Linked DNA regions of Homo sapiens: regions 1 and 2 are each linked to region 3. The links are contacts of gene promoters, found by promoter capture Hi-C in human tissues and cell types (Jung and others, 2019). All regions are on one chromosome and are shown on one strand. The core of a region is centred on a gene start or on the middle of the fragment in contact, and the rest is flanking DNA. Distances in the headings are between cores, read along the strand shown. Region 1 overlaps ATG2B (autophagy related 2B). Region 2 overlaps AK7 (adenylate kinase 7). Region 3 holds the start of AK7 (adenylate kinase 7).

Evidence for each region. The method cuts DNA at HindIII sites, captures the fragments that hold promoters and counts their contacts. A contact is called where the count stands out against the background at its distance.
Region 1: a contact is called between a fragment that was not itself captured here and the fragment with the promoter of AK7 in region 3, in 4 of the 25 tissues and cell types used here (H1 embryonic stem cells, adrenal gland, psoas muscle and 1 more).
Region 2: a contact is called between a fragment that was not itself captured here and the fragment with the promoter of AK7 in region 3, in 1 of the 25 tissues and cell types used here (H1 embryonic stem cells).

Annotation. Positions count from the first base shown.
Region 1 is chr14:96,350,149-96,353,601 of GRCh38, forward strand. All of the region lies in intron 1 of ATG2B (autophagy related 2B), which reads right to left. Among named protein-coding and RNA genes, the nearest start is that of ATG2B, 11 kb to the right of the region's middle. The HindIII fragment of the contact is 9,607 bases long and covers 1-3,453 here.
Region 2 is chr14:96,441,067-96,444,365 of GRCh38, forward strand. It overlaps AK7 (adenylate kinase 7), which reads left to right. Exons shown (of 18, transcript NM_152327.5): 7 at 1,664-1,752. Among named protein-coding and RNA genes, the nearest start is that of AK7, 51 kb to the left of the region's middle. The HindIII fragment of the contact is 3,117 bases long and covers 1-3,117 here.
Region 3 is chr14:96,390,698-96,394,014 of GRCh38, forward strand. It overlaps AK7 (adenylate kinase 7), which reads left to right and starts at 1,431. Exons shown (of 18, transcript NM_152327.5): 1 at 1,431-1,562. The coding sequence starts at 1,458. RefSeq lists a silencer at 991-1,500. The HindIII fragment of the contact is 16,997 bases long and covers 1-3,317 here.

The DNA of each region.
Region 1 (3,453 bases), core at 475-2,974, 40 kb before region 3:
CTGTCTCAAAAAAATAATAAAATAATAAACAAATGGGTAACTGAAGCCACAGCACGAGGAGAGAAATGTTTGGGAACTTATACAGTGTAAAATGAGAGGTGGCTTAAGACAGAACTCATAGACACCAATATTTAAGAAAAGGGTTATGAAAGAGGAGCCTGCAGAAGAAACTAGAAAAAAGCAAACAGAGACATAGAAGGAAAATTGAAAGAGGTTCATGTCCCAGAAAATCATGGAAGAACAACATGACAGAGAAGAGTGGTCAAGCTCAACAAAAGCTAACAAGAAGTCAAAGATTTTTAAATGTCTACTGAAATCAGTAATATTTAAAGTACTAGTGATCCCATTAACTGCAATTTCAGTGGCATGGTGGAGCAAACCAGACTACAACAGGAGACAGACAGAAAGAACGTAAATGCGATTTTTAAAAGACAATTTACTTTTCAAATTAAAATAACATATTTATTAAACGCCAGCTTATATGTAAAGTGCTTCCTGCATGCTATATTGCATAGGGTAGTATAATTCTTTGTCTGTACCCTAGTGTTGAATAGTGAGACTTGATCGGCTCGTTTTATTTTTGGAGATCACTACTTTAAAAGGCTTTCTTCATGCTGACATTTGCATAATCCTAAAGACTTTCCCAGTAGTACATGGGCATGGATGGTTTTAAGGTATAAGCATCCAAACATATTCTTTCCTAAAATGGACTGAGAAGACTACAGACAGTGGTGGCATCATGCTGGGTCTCCTGTCCCATAGTTCCTTGTACAATCTTCCTTCTCCCATTTAGCCAAAATAGCCATATTCTTCCTCTCTTCAGAAATTCTCCCTTATGTACTGTCTAAGGTATAAAAACCTCCAGACAGGGCCAGCAGTACATTTTCTATCTTTTCCCATCTTATACTTTTTTTGGCATGACACTCAGAAATTCAAAGAACTCAGTGATGTTGCTCCTGCAAAATCTCTCAATTCTCATCTACTGATTTATAACATCAGTATTTCTCAAGCTTGTATCTACATTTTAATTTAGAATAAAATGTGTGCCGAGCCCTGCTGAATTCCAGCTATAAGTATATTCACCTATGGATGCACTAACAAATTAGGGAGGAGGGGATCACAACCAACCTCTATCATTAAGAAATTTATTTCCAGTAAAAGTTTTTATGTTTGCTGGGTACAGTGGCTCATGCCAGTAGTCCCAGCAATTTTGGAGACTGAGGCAGAAGGATTGCTTGAGTCCAGGAATTTGAGACCATCCTGGGAGACATGGTGAAACTCGTCTCTACAAAAAATACAAAAATTGGCCAGGCGCAGTGGCTCAAGCCTGTAATCTCAGCACTTTGGGAGGCTGAGGCAGGCAGATTGCCTGAGGTCAGGAGTTTGAGACCAGCCTGGCCAACATGGTGAAACCCTGTCTCTACTAAAAGTACAAGAATTAGCCAGGCATGGTGGCCCACGCCTTTAATCCCAGCTACTCGGGAGGCTGAGGTAGGAGAATCACTTGAACCCGGGAGGCGGAAGTTACCGTGAGCCGAAATCGCGCCACTGCACTCCAGCCTGGGCGGCAGAGCAAGACTCCGTCTCAAAAAAAAAAAAAAAAATTAGATGGCATGGTAGCCCGTGCCTGTAGTCCCAGCTCCTTGGCGGGCTAAGGTGGGGATAATCGCTTGATCCCAGGAGGTCAAGGCTGCGGTTGAGCTGTGATCACCCACTGCACCCAAGCCTGGGTGACACAGCAAGACCTTGTCTCAAAAAAAAAAAAAAGAAAAAAAAATTTTTATGCTTATCAAAATGCATAAATTTATACTGTTTTGATCAACTATACACTTAACAATAATTGTAATTACAACACAATCCAGAAGAAAAGTAACACTTAAAGCCCCATGATTATCTGAAGGAAATAAAGTTATGCATCACAGAAGGACATCTGGTCAATGACAGACCATGTATAGGATAGTGGTCCTGTAAGATTATAATGGAGCTGAAAAATTCCTATCACCTTAGTGACATCGCAGCCATCATAAGGCAATGTAGCACAACACATTACTCACATGTCTGTGGTGATGCTGGTGTAAATAAACCTCTTGCTCTGCCAGTCATAAGTCTAGCACAAACAGTTATACACAGTACATAATACTCGAGGGTGATAATAAACAACTATGCTACCGGCTTCTGTTTTAATACCTATACTATACAATTTAATCATTATTTTAGAGTATACTCCTACTTTAAAAAAAAAAAAGTTAACTGTAAAACAGGCTCAGGCAGTTCTTTCAGGAGGTACCCAGAAGAAGGCATTGTTATCATAGGAAAGGACAGCTCCATGCATGTTACTGTTCCTGAAGACCTTCCAGTGGAACAAGATGTGGAGGTAGAAGGTGGTGACATTGATGATCCTTACCCTGTGTAGGCCTAGGCTGTGTTTTTTTGCGTCTTAGTTTTTGACAAAAAAGTTTAAAAATTAAAAAAAAAAATTAAAAATACAAAAAAATGCTTATAGCATAAGAATATAAAGAAAAAGTATTTTTGCATAGCTGTACAATGTGTGTTTAAGCTAAATGTTATTACAAAAGAAACAAAAAGTTCAAAAATTTTTTTAAAGTTTATAAAGTTACTGTAACCTCAGGTTAACTTATTATTGAAAAAAAAAAGATGTCTTTATTAATATAGTCTAGCCGAAGTGTACAGTGTTTATTCTAGCCGAAGTGTACAGTGTTTATAAAGTCTACAGTAGTGGACAGTGATGTCCTAGGCCTTCACATTCACTCACTGACTCACTCAGAGGAATTTCTAGTCCTGCAAGCTCCATTCATGGTAAGTGCCCCATACAGCCATATCAATTTTTATCTTTTTAAAATTTTTATTTTTTATATTTTATGCCATATTTGTACATACCTTTTCTATGTTTAGATACACAAATACCATTGTGTCACAGTTGCCTACAGTATTCAGTAACATGCTGTGCAGGTGTATAGCCTAGGAGCAATAGGCTGTACCCTATAGCCTAGGTATACAGTAGGCTATACCACTGGGTTTAGGCAAGTACACTATGACGTTCACACAACAAAACTGCCTAATGACCCATTTCTCAGAACATATCCCTGTCGTTAAGCAACACATGACTGTACTGATAAAATGAATATAGTAAGCCCTAGAGCAACCACTAAGAAACAATTTAAAAATACATACTGGGCTGGGCATGGTGGCTCCCACCTGTAATCCTAGCACTTTGAGAGGCCAAGGTGGGCAGATTGCCTGAGCTCAGGAGTTCAAGACCAGCCTAGGCAGCATGGTAAAACCCTGTCTCTACTAAAAACCCAAAAAATTAGCCAGGCATGGTGACATGGGCCTGTAGTCTCAGCTACTCGGGAGGCTGAGGTACGAGAATCGCTGGAACCTGGGAGGCTGAGGTTGCAGAGAGCCGAGATTGTGCCACTGCATTCCAGCCAG
Region 2 (3,299 bases), core at 309-2,808, 50 kb after region 3:
CTGTTCGACATGAGGGAAGGGTAGAGGAATAGTCACTTATGCATTTATCTAGCTCAGCGAATCTGCATTTTTATGTAAGATAAAATAGACATAGGGCCGAGGAAGCAATCAGATAGGCATTTGTGTCAGGTGAGCCTAGGGATGACTTTGAGTTCTGTCCTTGTCCTGTACCTGTGAAGATAAGCTGTCAATTTACATTGTCAGGGTGAAATTCAACAGAACTGTTTTCGGGTAAAGCTCTTGGGGCCTACAGATAATTTCATAGTGGGCAAATTGTGAGGAAGGTATGAGGCCAGGCATGGTGGTTCACGCCAGTAATCCCAGCATATTGGGAGGCTGAGGCGGGTAGATCACCTGAGGTCAGGAGTTCGAGACCAGCCTGGCCAACATGGTGAAATCCCATCTCTATTAAAAATACAAAAATTAGCCAGGTGTGGTGGCACATGCTTGTGATCCCAACTATTCGGGAAGCTGAGGCAGGAGAATCACTTAAACCTGGGAGGCAGAGGTTGCAGTGAGCTGAGATCCTGCCACTGCACTCCATCCAGCCTGGGTGACACAGCAAGACTCCGTCTCAAAAAAAAAAAAAAAAAAAAGAAAACAAAATAAAATCTTTGAATGAGAGACAGGTTTGCTTTATGTAGTTCCTAGCTTGACTTTTCCCTTTGGCTTAGTGATTTTGGGGTCCCAAGGTTTATTTTCCTTTCACATTACCCATCATAAAATTCCCAGTTACTACAGTCAGCCTCCTCAATGTCTCCCTTCTCTCCATCCCCACTCCCTGCACTTCCCACCTCCAGGCTAAGCTACCCTATTTCGCCTGCACACCTGCCATCACCCCTCTGTCCCCACTGGACTCTCCTTCCCGCCACTTCTCCACAAGGCAACAAAAGCAAGCCTGCTGGTGTCACATCACTGCTTAGAACCCTTCAATACTTTCTGAAAGTCCAAAATATCTTACAAGACCCAGTGGTCTACTGTGACCCCTACCCCTACCTCTTTCACTCTTAACAACAATTCAAAATAATCTAATATGTGACACTTAAACAGTACTCATCATGTCTGTTTGGTTACTGAAATACTTAATGAGAAGAAAAGATGAGGATTTGGACTCTGAGGATCGGGGTTCCAGTCCAAGCTCTCACAAGTGTATCCTCCTGCATGCTACTTATCCGCTAAGCATTTCACCCCTGGACTGATGGTACTTATTTCCCCTCACCTCATCCCTACTGGTGGGGGTAATTTTAAATTTTAATTTGTCTTTTTGTGAGAATTAAGACATCATGCATGTGAAAACATTTCTTCTCTATGTGAATGCCATGCGTATAGCTACTAAATACGGCTGAGAGGTTGTAGATTTCTTGAAAAGTATTTCAGTCCCAGGGCTACACATTATTTCTCTTGGCAGAATTTGATTCAGTCCCAGGGCTACACATTATTTCTCTTGGCAGAATTTGATTCAGTCCCAGGGCTACACACTATTTCTCTTGGCAGAATTTGATCCTAAATCTCATCAGGGCTGATTTATAAAACACCCCCTAGAGGAAATTACTTAAGCAGATAGCTAGGCCTTTCAGTTGCCTCTGACTGTAGACTTATGTGTGAGCTGTAATAGCCATCCACATATAACTGGGGGACATGATTTTGCTTTTCTTCCTTTCAGATGGCTTGGTTGGGCGAGATTCCTGCATTACCAGTTTTTGGCGATGGAACAAATGTAATTCCAACAATCCATGTTCTTGATCTAGCAGGGTAAGCATTCGCCCAGAGACGTGACCTTCACAGAATTGGTTAATGTGTTTGTTTGTAGCCTAATACTTTTTGAGCATTTGCCTAGTGCTAAGACCCTTACATGGATTATTGTGTTCATTCTTCGTAACAACCCTATGCAGAAGGTACCGTCTTCTCCATTTTGCATCTAATGAAATAGTGCCCACTGTTCAAAAGTTCTACATTTCTGGTGACAAGTTCAGGTTCATCTCTTAGAAACTATCGACAGAATAGCAATGCCCTCCAATTTTGGAAAAGAAAGAACTTGGTGTGTACATTCTGAGGACGTAGTTTCTTATTCCTTTGTCCCAGATGAGATTAATATGTCTAACCCGTCAACTTAAATTCTAGAATTCAAATGGAAAACTGTAAACCTGAAGCTTTTTCCTTCTTTGACAGTTGTAGGTAAAGTTGACATATGTTTTTTATACTCACAGAGCATCTAAACCCTGTATTCAGACAGGTCCAGAAACCCTTCTCTTCCTTTGAAGACCCTGACTTAAACGTGAGGTCAATGAGTTGGTTCACTGTGTTTGTGGTTCATCAGCTCCAGCTTCCGGGGACTTCATTCTGTCACCCCTGTGGCACATCCCCAGAAAGGAGCAATTTCTGCACTTCCCTGAGGTTCTGGTTTTCAGATTCCCACTCTTTCTCTCATCCACTGGCCACTAGTAAATTAGTCACAATCTCAGATAAATTTCTAGACTTACTGGGAAATGAAGGAAGTTTAAACTTCAGGGCCACACCCCTGAGCAGATCCCTTTCCAAGACCCTGAACCTAATTTTTATTATTTTTCTTAAAGAAGGATCCTATGAGTCAGGGATATCCAATCTTTCGGCTTCCCTGGGCCACATTGGAAGATTTGTCTTGGGCCACACATAAAATACACTAACACTAACGATAGCTGATGAGCTTTAAAAAAAATAACAAAAAAAACTCATAATTTTTTTTTTTGAGATGGAGTCTCACTCTGTTGCCCAGGCTGGAGTGCAGTGGCACAATCTCGGTTCACCGCAAGCTCTACCTCCCAGGTTCATGCCATTCTCCTGCCTCAGCCTCCCAAGTAGCTGGGACTACAGGCACCCGCCACCATGCCTGGCTAATTTTTTGTATTTTTTTAGTAGAGATGGGGTTTCACCATGTTAGCCAGGATGGTCTCCATCTCCTGACCTCATGATCCACCCGCCTCAGCCTCCCAAAGTGCTGGGATTACAGGCGTGAGCCACTGCGCCCGGCCCAAAAACTCATAATGTTTTAAGAAAGTTTACAAAGTGTGTTGGGCCACATTCAAAGCCATCCTGGGCCTCACGCAGCCCACAGGCCCTGGTTTGACAAGCTTGCTGTAAATGGGCTAAGCTTCAGGCACTACAAAACCCTGGATCTGCTCCATCCCTGGGGATGGAGGGGCCGAAACATACCCATTTTTTTCTGCAGAGATTTTACATTATGACATTACTGGGTTTCAAAGATACAGAAGAGTCTTTTACATTATTAATATAACTTACTTGGCATTAATCCTTAACATATT
Region 3 (3,317 bases), core at 181-2,680:
AATCGCTTGAACCCGGGAGGCGAGGTTGCAGTGAGCTGAGATTATGCCATTGCACTCCAGTCTGGGTGACAGAGCGAGACTCCATCTCAAAAAAATAAATTAAAAATAAAAAGAACAAGAACGCTGGCGTGGTGGCTCATGCCTGTAATACCAGCACTTTGGGAGGACGAGGCAGGAGAGTTTCTTGAGCTCCGGAGTTAGAGACTAGCCTGGGCAACAAACATAGTGAGACCCTGTCTCTATTAAAAATAATAAAAAGAACGAGAAGAAACCACGCACACACAATTGCTGCAAGTGTTAAATATTTGCATTTAAGGAGTTAATGCTTAAGGCATGAAAACAGTTCAATATGATCAGGCTATTCCAAGGGAACTGCGTATTCTTAGTCCACCACAACCTTTATGGTCCAGTGATCACCGAGGTGAATGTTATCTTTTAATTTGTGGATTTATCTCAGCAACTGCATGTATAATCTCTTGTGGAACGGTCAAGTCTAAATTTCTTCCCTTGGTGAATGTGAGCGAATCCCGGGCGCCTACGGGCTCTGGTCGCCCCCAGCCGACACCAGGGGTCTTCCCGGAACGTGCGTCTGGAAACAACCCCCAAGGGAGCTGAGCCGGCGGACCAAGCCGCACCTGCCGCAAGGCGGGACCACGCTAGCGTCGCTCGGGTGTTCGGGAGCCCGAAACTCCATGGCAACAGCTTTTCTTCGCAGCTGAGGCTTACGTCCCGTCGCCCCGGCCAGACCACCCCATGGGAGCGTGCTGAGTAACTCCCACGTGTCGGGGAGAGGCCTAGGCTGTGGGCCATTCCCTCTTCTTCAGAATTCTCATTATTTTTAGTCATCGGGTCAAGCGGACACAGGGATGTGTTTCCAGACTTTCCGAACAATGGAGATTAAAAAGGCACAGCAATCACATGGCCCCCCGGGACAGACGCCCAGGGAGCTTCGGAAAGAAACCATGCACTGCCCAAGGGCTCCCAGTGGGCAGCAAGCCAGGGTGAGACCCGGGCTGCACGCGCGGCGCCGCGGAAAGCACTCGCAGGGACATCCGCCTGGCGCCCAGCAGCCGACAGCGCGCGCAGTTGCGAGCCCTGAGCCCCGCTTCGCCCGGCGCGCCCCGCCCAGCCCACTGCACTACACACCCCGCCCTGCCCGGCATGCCCCGCCCAACCCCCCGGCACGACTCGCCCCGCCCTACCCGGCACGCCCCGCCCAGCGACCGGCACAGCCTGCCCCGTCCCGCCTGGCACGCCCTGATTAGCGCCGGGCACGACACGCACCGCCCCGCCCGGCACTCCCTGCTTCGCCCACGACACGCCCCTCCCCGCCCGGCAAACTGCCCGGAGCCAAGGCCCCGCCCCCAGAGAGAACCTGCCCCGCCTCCCTGGCCCGGGCCCCGCCTCCTTGGCAAGCGAGTGGCGCTTTCACCTTAGCAACCAGCGCGGCTCCCACCATGGCTGAAGAAGAGGAAACTGCTGCTCTCACGGAGAAGGTTATCCGGACCCAGAGGGTGTTTATAAACCTGTTGGATTCCTACAGCAGCGGAAACATCGGGAAGGTGAGCGGCGGCGGCGGCCCAGAGCCTCACGCCAGCTCTCAGCTCCCAGCCCTCGGCCCCCGGTCCGCAAACCCAGCGAGGGTCTGCGCCCCAGGGCGCTGTCGGGGCCTTTCCTCAGGGAGGGTCCCGCGTCCTGGGCACCACCAATGCCCCCTGGACCCCAGTCCGCACCCAGGCTGGTCAAGAGATTCTACATGGAAGCTCAGGTGTCTGGAAATCACTGGTCCATCCCCTGTTCCTCCTTTTAATGAGGGGAAACTGAGGCTAAGAGGCAGGGACTTGCCCAAGATCACATAGAGAGTTGAGGCCAGAACCTGGACAGAGACTCCAGGTCTCTTGCCCCCTCCTAGGTTCTCTTTCTACCCTTCCATCGATTTTGAAGCAGGCAGCTAAACGAGAAAATAAATCAATTTTTTTTTTTTGAGACGGAGCCTTGCTCTGTCGCCCAGGCTGGAGTGCAGTGGCGCGATCTCGGCTCACTGCAAGCTCCGCCTCCCGGGTTCACGCCATTCTCCTGCCTCAGCCTCCGAGTAGCTGGGACTACAGGCGCCCGACACCGCGCCCGGCTAATTTTTTGTATTTTTAGCAGAGACGGGGTTTCACTGTGTTAGCCAGGATGGTCTCGATCGATCTCCTGACCTCGTGACCCACCCGTCTCGGCCTCCCAAATTACAGGCCGAGTAAATCCAAAAGGGATTACAGGCGTGAGTAAATCAAATTTTTATATTGCCCATGAAGCGTTTTTCATTCATCCATCCCTTCAATATATGGTTTTTGAGCATCTATTATGGACCAGACACTGTTTGGGTCCCCGAGTTCCATTAAGTTTCCTCACCTTTCTGTGTCTTTATCCCTGGAAAATGAAGATATTCAGAAAAAGGGCTCTGGGGCCCTTCATGCTAATATGATCAGTTGTCAAAAGAAAGCCATGATTTTATCATTCCCTGTGGGTAGGACCCGTCCATCTGAATTCTGTCCTCTAGAGCTACAGAGAAATCTAATCTCACCCTGGACAGACTTCTCTGAGGCTAATGACTGCACTTTCGAACAGGACAAATCTGCTTAAAATAGGATGAGGCTACAGTACGTACAATCTGTATTAGTTTTCTAGGGCTGTGGTAACCAATTGCCACAAACTGGATGACCTTATAAAACAGAAATTATTCTCTCGCAGTTCTTGAGGGCAGAAGTCCAAGATCAAGGTGTCAGCAGGGTTGGTTTCTACTGGAAGCTCCAGGGGAAGAACTGTTGCTTGCCCCTCTCCTAGCTTCTGGTAGTTGCCAATAATTCTTGGCACCCCTTGGCAGTAGACTCCAATCTCTGCCACCTTCTTCACATGGTGTTCTCTCCCCTGTGTCTCTGTGTCAAAACTTCCCTCTTCTCATAAGGACACCAGTTGTTGGATGAGGACTCACCCTATCCAATATGGCTTCATTTTAACTTGATTACATCTGCAAAGACCCTATTTCCAAATAAGGCCACATTCACAGGTTCTAAGAGGACAGGAATTTGGTGGGGGTAGACGCTATTTAACCCAGTGTACCATCTAAAATGCATCCATCAAAAAACAGAGATTTAGGGTGGGCGTGGTGTAATACTAGCACTTTGGGAGGCCGAGGTGGGTGGATCACCTGAGGTCAGGAGTTCGAGACCAGCCTGGCCAACATAGTGAAACCCTGTCTCTACTAAAAGTACAAAAATTAACCGGGCGTGGTGGCAGGCGCCTATAATCTCAGCTGCTCTGGAGGCTGAGGC